2 separate regions of the Homo sapiens genome follow, and region 1 is linked to region 2. The links are contacts of gene promoters, found by promoter capture Hi-C in blood cells and fetal thymus (Javierre and others, 2016). All regions are on one chromosome and are shown on one strand. Each heading gives the region's core, a stretch centred on a gene start or on the middle of the fragment in contact. The rest is flanking DNA. Distances are from core to core; before and after follow the strand shown. Region 1 holds the start of ZBED5 (zinc finger BED-type containing 5). Region 2 holds the start of LOC105376548 (a long non-coding RNA gene).

Region 1 (4,506 bases), core at 191-2,690, 300 kb before region 2:
ATAGAACTATTACATGAAGCAGTTCTTTCACTACAATCATTTTTAGCCCCCCAGTGACCAATCTCCTCAGGTAAACAATGTCTAATGACTGATGATTGTTTACTGTATGCCAATTACTGCTAAATCCCTCATATAGATTATCTCATCTATGAAGACACAAGGATTATTAATAACCCCACTTTAGAGATAAACAGACACAGGTTAACACATCTCGCTAACACCTCTTGTAAGTGAAAAACCAAGTTCAGAGCCCAAAAAGTTTGACTGCATAGCCCATGTGTCTAGCCATTACTTGGGTGTTCCTGAATACTTTTAATTCCCCAACTACTAAAAAATCTCGTTACTAGGAGTTGGGTTATGCAGCGAAACGGATGAACAATGGATTATAACTGCCAGAAAGTCGAGGGTCTCATACTAGCAACAGCATAAAGCCCTGCTTCTTATTGGGAGCAAAAAAGCAGATTCTCCTTCCACAGTCTCCTTTTGGATTTTGCAACGGAGAACTCTGTGGAGCTGCTGGTTCACGTAAAAGATCAGGATCCCTCTCGTTGCCAGAGGACACAGAAGAGTAGGAAGCTTTTGTTTTCAGAAAGAAGGTCCTCAACCCCACCTCTTCGAAGGTGTTTCCCCGAATTTCTCGAGGACAAAGAATCTGGACTCCTTTGAGAGTAAAGTTTCCTTTCCACTCCCTGAAGAGCGGGGAAAACTTCCGTCTTTAGTCTCCTTCCGGTTAAACTGACAAGTATCACAATCCTTTCTCCCCTATCTTCGGGCGGTTCCGGCTGGGAACAATACCCTCAGGGTCAGGAGGACAGGATCTGAGTGCAGGCCAGCCAAAAAGGTGGGAACAGATGCTCCTTCCAACACCTAAATGCTTTTTTAAACGGTCACCTGGATGTGCAGCCAGGGCCAACTATCCCTCAGCTCCTCCCTGTCACAGGTGCGCGCTGCCCACAGATTGCCACGACTGGGGGGCTCCCTACCAGTCGCAGCCCACCCTCGCCTCAGGTCTTCTCTCGCGTCCCCGGGCGGCCGCCTGCGCTAACGACCACATGAAAACGTCTCAGCACCCAACACCATCTCTCTATTTCATCTCCATCAGCGATGGAGAGAACGGATTTTGCCGCGGCTGGGCTGCACAGCAGCGCCGCGGTCCACAGCAGAGCCCGCGACCGCCATCTTAGGCAGTTCCAGGAAGCGGCCATTTCAGAGCGCACCGCTTAGCCGCGGCGGCGGCTCTGCTTCTCACCTTCACCGAGGCCTGAACAGGGTCAACAGCCAGTCGTCGTGGACTGGAGGGGGAGGGGAGAGAGGGAGGGGAATGAAAAACAAAACAGAGAGGAAAGAAGGATTCGGGGACAGGGTGATGCTCTCAGCTCAGGGATATCGCCTAGGCCATCTCCATAGAGATCCGATTCGCGGCTGGCGCGGTCGCCGGTCTGAAGATAAATTTAGCACTCTAGAGCACCCGAACCCTACAATCTTCACGAGCGACTCTGCCGCCGCCCAATCAGCGCCAGATTTGCGTCCCGCCACCAATCCGCGCTGAGCAGCGGGGCGGGACCAAAGGAAAGGACCAAGCTCGGTTGAGGCGCGGCCCAGCCGCAGCCGCAGTCACAGCCTCAGCCGCAGCGGCCGTGCTACCTAGGTGATAGCGGAGCGGCTGGGTAGGAAGCAATTGTTCTCAAACTTCACTAGCCCCGTCGGCGCGGACGCTTGTCGAGAATGCAGATTCCTGGGTACTGCCAGATACGGTTGGTGATCTTGTAGGGCTGGAGTGGAAGCCATGAATCTGCATTTTCATCATTTCTGGCCCTCTGCCCGGGCTGGGGTGATTCACGGGGATTCGTAGTGGCCCCAAAGGAGCACGCAGAACCTCGGCTGCTGTGCATTTATCACCTCTTTTGTTCCCGGAGGCCGCACCCCAGGTCCAGTTTACACAGCTGCCAACTCCTTTTCTTGGTTCCCACTGGAATCTAGGAAGAAAACTCGCCCTTTACTTCTCCGCCCCACACCCGACGACGGAGTGTCTAGAGGTCTGGTCGGCCTTGGCTGTGCGGAGGGCTAGGCCTGACGAGCGGGCGCTGATGCGGCGCAGACCCCGCCGGACCTCTTGGTCGGCCCGGGGTAGGCTGGGGAGCCGCGGGAACAGGACTGGATAGGGAAAGCGGCACCGCAGCGTCCACGGGCAAGCTGAAAGTCCGCTTGATGTCTTTGCATCACAGTGGCGCCCTCCCCGCAGGAACGCCCGGCCGCCTGCACCGAACGTTTGCCTGCAGGGAACGGCCAACCCGCCCTGAAATACTCTTTTTGTGGGCTGCAGCTTTCGGGTATTTTAAGCCATGGTTCTGTGCCCTTCCTTGTTTTCAAAAACACCACAGCCAAAGGCTGCGGGTTGTGTGCTTTCATTTTGTGTTAAGTTCTGTGGTGGAGACCTGGAGTCTGTTTTTCCAAATAGGCACCTTGAAATAGATACGCTTCTTAAGCGGGGAAAGTACGAGTAGGTCCTATTATTTGCAATGTTTTAGCCTTTCCAGACTCCGTACAAATGACTAAATGAAGATTGGATCGTATTTTCAGGCACTGCACCAATGATAGAAAATTCTCAACTTGGGGTCAAAAGCAAGGGCAGCTTTCGTTTTTCTTAAATATGCTTCTGATCAAATATCTAAAGTGTTGAAAGAAACCTAACCCTTAATAGCACAATTTACAGGAGTGCATAATTTCCTAGGACTGACATTTAGTTCCAAATGTTTTAAAGTCAATTACAACATCATCTCACCCTATAGTAAGCTGTCCATATATTCTCATTATTATTTTTAAATTATTTCTATTAAATCAGCTTCATTTGAACTTTAACCATAAATGCATAAATCGTTTTTGGGAAGGGGGTACAGTCGCGCTTGAAGAGCAAGGGATTTTGTCATTGCGGGAGTTGTCTGGCTTCAGAATAATATTGGAATAATATATTTTCGTGTTTCATATTTTAGAAAAACCTTTTACATATGTGCTCCCAAACCAATCTTTTTTTATTTTTTATTTTTTTTATTATTATACTTTAAGTTCTAGGGTGCACAACTTGCAGGTTTGTTACATATGTATACATGTGCCATGTTGGTGTGCTGCACTCGTTAACTCGTCATTTACATTAGGTATATCTCCTAGGGCTATCCCTCCCCCCTCCCCCCACCCCACGACAGGCCCTGGTGTGTGATGTTCCCCACCCTGTGTCCAGGTGTTCTCATTGTTCTATTCCCACCTATGAGTGAGAACATGTGTTTGATTTTCCTGTCCTTGCCATGGGCTCCCAAACCAATCTTTACACATCTTGTTTACATCTTCATGAAGAGGGAAAACCCAAAATATTAAACTGTTAGGCAGAATAGTGTTTAAATAAGTACATCTAAAGTTTAGGAATTAGGTCCTGATATGATTTGACTCTGTGTCCCTACCCAAATCTTATATCGAATTTTAATCCCCACGTATGGAAGGATTAAAGTGATTGGATTATGAGGACGTTTTCTCCCATGCTGTTCTGATAGTTAAGTGAATTCTCACACGATCTGATGGTTTTATAAATGGTAGTTTTTCCTGTGGTCTCACATGCTCTCTCTCACCTGCCGTCATGTAAGACCTGCCCTGTAAGACGTGCCTGCTTCCCCTTCCTCCATGATTGGAAAATTTTGTGAGGCCGCCCAGGCATGTGCAGCTGAGTCAATTAAACCTCTTTCCTTTATAAATTACCCAGTCTCGGTATTTCTTTATAGCAGTGTGAGAATGGATTAATATAGGGCCCCAAATCTGAAGTGTCTCATAATTAAAGTTCATGAAACTTAACTTTTTTTGTAATCGTTTTGTCAAATTATTACAGAATGTTGATGGGACAGATAAGAAAAAATACAGACAATGTAGAACTCAGACCAGTAATACATAGCTAGCATTTATTGAATACATAATGTAGGCCGGGGAGCTATTGTATACGCTTTTTTTGTTTTTGTTTTTGTTTTTTTGAGTCAGGGTCTCACTCTGTTGCCTAGGCTGGAGTGCAGTGGCACGATCTTAGCTCTGTGCAACCTCAACCTCCCGGGCTCAAATGATCTTTCCACCTCAGCCTCCTGAGTAGCTGGGACTACAGGTGCATGCCACCGTGTCTGGCTAATTTTTGTATTTTTTTATAGCGATGGGGTTTTGCCATGTTAGCTAGGCTGATCTCAAACTCCTGGCCTCAAACGAGTCACCCGCATTGGCCTCCCAAAGTGCTGGGATTACGGGTATGAGCCACCAGGCCTGGCCTATACACTTGTAAATTTATTAAGTCTTTTACTGTTCACAACAATTTTATCAGTTGATTAACCTTATTTTACAGATAAGGAAATTAAGCACAAAGAGGTAAATAACTTGCCCCAGTTCCAAGAACTAATTAGTGGCAGAACCTGGATTAGGTGTGATGCTGGTTGTGGGAACTACAAACTGTGTTTATGTGCATACTTGATTTATATTAGGCAG
Region 2 (4,368 bases), core at 1,086-3,585:
TTCATCTTGTATTCAAGAAACTTGTAATTTCAGTAATGTTAAAGAGTCATGTCCTCTGACCTGACCCCAACGGGAGGGTGGCCCTACCATCCACTGCAAAGCTGAAACACATCTGACTAGGGTTTGCAGATTTCTTCTGCCAGGACTCACACTGGGCTCCAGCAGCAGTCAGGCTGAGAAGAAAAGAGTAAGAGATGCTGAGATGGAACAGCTGATAGCAAAGTGGGGACCAGTCTTAAGGAGAAGCAGAGAGTGGTGGGATGCAGTTAGACATAGGATGTCTGTAAACAATTAGACTTGGGACTCAGCGAGGAATCCTAGAGCTAACGATGTGTGTCATAATCCTAAATAAAAGGCAGTGGTCAGAGTTCAAAAGAAGTCAGAGGCAGTGGTAAAATAGCAGCTGGAATAATCCTGGAGACTTAATAAAGTACTGAGAGATAGGTGCTAGGATTAATGGGCAGCATGGGGCTCAGAGAGGTATAGCAATTTGCTTAAAGTCACACAGCCCAAAAGTGGCAGAGGTGAACATTGAAGGCAGGTCTGTCTGCCTCCAAATCTCACTGTCTCTGCAGTCTACCATACTGCTGCCTAGATGACTTCTTTGTCGTCTTCTTTTTTTAGACAGAGTCTCACTCTGTCACCCAGGCTGGAGTGCAGTAACATGATCATGAACCACTGTAGCCTCGACCTCCGAGGCTCAGGGGATCCTCCCACCTCAGCCTCCTGAGTAGCTGGGACCGCAGGTGGATACTACCACCCCCAAGTGATTTTTGTAGAGACAAGGTCTTGCCGTGTTGCCTAGGCTGGTCTCGATCTCCTAGACTGAAAAGATCCTCCTGCCTCTGCCTCACAAAGTGCTGGGATTACAGGCGGGAGCCACTGTGCCCGGCCTGCCTAGGCTTCTGACTATTGGTTGACCTCCCCAGCCTCCACTACAGATCCTGACTCCTTTCTGACCTCCTTGATGGGTTCCAGGCTAGCTGATGCCCAGGACAAGGAAGTGGCAAGGACTGATGGACAATGGGTGGAAGAGCAGCAGAAGACGAGCTTCATAGAAAACTATTTGCACGACCTCAGAGGTGTCCTCTGCCCAGGCTGGGGCCTCCCTCAGTCCTCAGAGATGCTGGGAGAGCCCAGAACCTTAGCGTGGTGGAGCCTGGCTGAGCCTGGTTGGGTCCTAATCCGCTTCCTACTGGTTGACGCCACGGCCGCAGATGCTGACTACGATGTCTGCAGGCAGGACCCAGCTAGGTGGGTCCGCCTTGCTGGCTGTGCGCTGCCTTCTCACTAGGGCCTGGAGTCTCCCTCGGCTTCCTCCCTGGGCCTCTCGCACCTGAATTCTCCCCTCCGGATGGTTGGCTGTAGTTGCAGCACTGTGCCTGCAGGGGGCGTGAGGTGTGCTGCCCGGGTTCCCCTGGGGTCCCTACCCGTCCAAGAAGAAACACAGTCCTCAGGCTGCTGACAGCTCTGAGCTGAGTCTGTCTCCAGAGATTGCCCTCAGATGAGCTCTCAGCTGAGTCTGTCGCCAGGGATTGCTCTCAGATGCCGAGAGCCACCTCGCCCGTCACATCCCCTTCCCAGGGGCTGTGCATCCAATGTCGAGTCAGTGCGGGGGATTAGAGGGCCGGGGTCCTCGCCCTACCTCAGTGCATCTCTGCAGGGCCGTACCAGCTCCCAAGCTTCCCTGCAGGATTGCGGAGGTCTTCGCTGCTTCTGCATCACTGTTTAGCATCTCCTTCTGTCCCATCCTATGCCTCTCACTACTCCCACGGGCGTGGAGTCTGAGAGCACTTCCTGATAAACACCGCACACACCGTTTCCGTTTCAGAGGTGCTTCCGGAAGAGGGACCTGCAACAACTCCTATCTGCTGTCTTGGGTTAACAACGTGGGATCCTTCCTGCCACAAGTCCTGTCCTGAGCCCTAGCTTAGCCAGGCCTCGTGTGCACCACATTCCCTAACCCCCTCCCCTGGGCTGGGTCCACGGCTCTGCCCCTGAGAGGGGGAATCAGGCAAGTCCAACCCCTCCAGGGTCCAGCCGTGAAAGATCCAAGGCAAGGCACTTGGCCACCATCACATAGCAAGGCCGTGGCCCGGAGTTCTCCTCTTCTGCATCCCGACATTTCTACTATGCTCTATGGCTTTTCTCTTTAACAAATATAATCCAGTCCGACAACCTTTCTTGATCTGGTACCCCTGCCCCTAGTATTCTTATTTTAGAGTTCTCAGCTTTCCCATCACCAGGGATATCTTTTGTGTTATTTCTCCATGCTCTGGAAAATCCTATCTGCCATATACCCTTCATTTGCAGATAATAATAAATTTGTTTTCATACTTTTATCATCAAAACCATATGTAACTGCCAATCAGAGCTTCGGATCCATAAGAGATAATCACAGTTTGTATAAATATTGAATTGATATAAATTGATGCTTGTTGCTTCATTTAGTTTGGCAGTGGTAGTGGGGTGGTTATTGAGAAAAACATGCGCAGTTTCCACGAGGAACTTCATTTGAAAATAGCACATAGACATCTGTGACTGTTTCAACTGCAGAGATAAAACAGGGCCTTGACTCCCCTACTCTACAGCATGAAGCTCCCGGAGCCCCCTGCTGGAAGGTGCATAAAGGCAACTTTCCTCTACCAGACACTGAAACCACCATCCCTGGGCTCTTGGTGCCATGGAAGCCTTGCGTGCTGGACTGGATGCCTTCTCGTCCACCATCCCTGGGCTCTCGGTGCCACGGAAATCTTGGATGAGGGTCTGGATGCCTTCTGGTTTAAGGGGAAACTGGGCAGGGCTCTCTGTCCCTGCCCCCACCATTAGCGCCCCTCCATTCTTTCGATTTTTGAAGTTAATACACTGGGGCAGAGAGAAAGTGGGCACCACTTAAACTGTGATTAGCCATTTATCCCTTAGTTGCCAGCTAAGCCCTTTGTAGAGTTTCCTGACAGCTCCTTAAAGCCAGATGATTTGGGGTCCCAGCAAAGCTTTTCAGTGGTAGTTAGAGCTCCAAGGTGGATTGAGAATGGCTCCTGGTTTCTCCAGGTCCTGTGTTTGTAGGCATGACATGTCCAGGTGTAGGGGTGGGTGTCTATGGCAGCTCTGCTCAGCACACCATCGCCGGCCCAGAAGCACTGACATCACACATCACAGAGCTGCCCTCAGCTGGCGAGCAGGGCCTGGGTGTGAGGTGGAGATCCTGGGCTCTCCCAAACATGCACCATAGAGCACCAGCTTCAGGTCTCATGGCAGCCTAATCTTTACCCAGCTTGCCTCCAAGATCCTGTTGGCAGGAGTGTGCACCAAACGAGGGGCAGAAAAATGATCTACATAGAGATGGAGGAGACAGAGCTGCCCAGGGAGCCCTGCCTTGTCTCAGCTGCAGCCTGGTGTGCTGAGGTCTCTTCCTACCCAACCTTCTGTAGACTTCTTTCTGTTCTCCCCTAAGTCACTCACACTCTGGAATCTTCCCAATGGACCTTGAGCATCATGAGGAGGCCAGACCTTGCAGGAGGGGGACCATGTGCCACAGAGCTGACCTGTCATTCCTTAGAGAGATGTGAGATGAAATTGTCCATGCCTGCCCCAGGGATCCTGTATGGGGGCGGGCGGTGGGGGGGGGGAGGCTGCACATGCCTATGCCAGAAACCAGATTATCAATTTCTTTTTCTGACAAAATGTTAGTCCATGGAAGATAAATTCTGCCTTCTGGCATATTATGTATATAATAATATATAATATGTACATACATATTTTTTATATGTGTGCATTTCAATTACTTAATTTTTAATGGGAATCATGAGATATGTATGATCTTTTCAAATAAGGCTTAAATTAAAATACTTTAAAGGTTTTAATTTAATGATAGGGACTAGGAAACTTGAACAAGGATTTAGGTTAAGAAAGTTGATGGAGCTGTTTTGAGACAAGTCATTGAGTGTACCAAAAAAGATAAATCGAGTTAAAAATATACTTGCCTTTAAAGAAATACCACAGAAAAGCACCAGTTTATTTCTAGATAATCTGGTCTGGGATGCCCAATTATTTAAACAAAAGGTAACATATCATAAGAGAAAAACACAAATAAATAAAATATAATAATTATAAATAAAACAAAACCCTCTAGGAAAATGGCTGATTCGAACAATTGTCAAAGCATCTTCAGACTGAGCTTATCGCGTGCATTTTTTTTCAGCAATTGAAAATGAGGTCAGGCTCCAGTGAGCCCAGAGACCTGGTTTTAGGGATGCACCTCCACCTATCAAACCCTGAGTGCTATACCTTCATGCCTCTAATTGTTTGGGTTTCTTCCAGTCCCAAAGGCAGTCATTCAAATATCTCTTTGACTTTTTAAGCCTTCCT

What was found. Contacts are between HindIII fragments. The CHiCAGO score rates a contact against its expected background, and 5 or more counts as called.
Region 1: a contact is called between the fragment with the promoter of ZBED5 here and a fragment that was not itself captured in region 2, in 1 of 17 cell types (naive CD4 T cells). The highest score is 5.7, in naive CD4 T cells.

The regions. Positions count from the first base shown.
Region 1 is chr11:10,856,613-10,861,118 of GRCh38, forward strand. ZBED5 (zinc finger BED-type containing 5) reads right to left here and starts at 1,441. Exons shown (of 3, transcript NM_001143667.2): 1 at 1,250-1,441. ZBED5-AS1 (ZBED5 antisense RNA 1) reads left to right here and starts at 1,605. Exons shown (of 3, transcript NR_034137.1): 1 at 1,605-1,754. RefSeq lists enhancers at 1,107-1,486, 1,640-2,277, 1,787-1,876, 2,278-2,913. The HindIII fragment of the contact is 21,619 bases long and covers 575-4,506 here.
Region 2 is chr11:11,154,776-11,159,143 of GRCh38, forward strand. The region is part of intron 3 of LINC02752 (long intergenic non-protein coding RNA 2752); the gene reads left to right. It overlaps LOC105376548 (a long non-coding RNA gene), which reads right to left and starts at 1,786. Exons shown (of 3, transcript XR_007062592.1): 1 at 1,646-1,786. The HindIII fragment of the contact is 1,311 bases long and covers 1,681-2,991 here.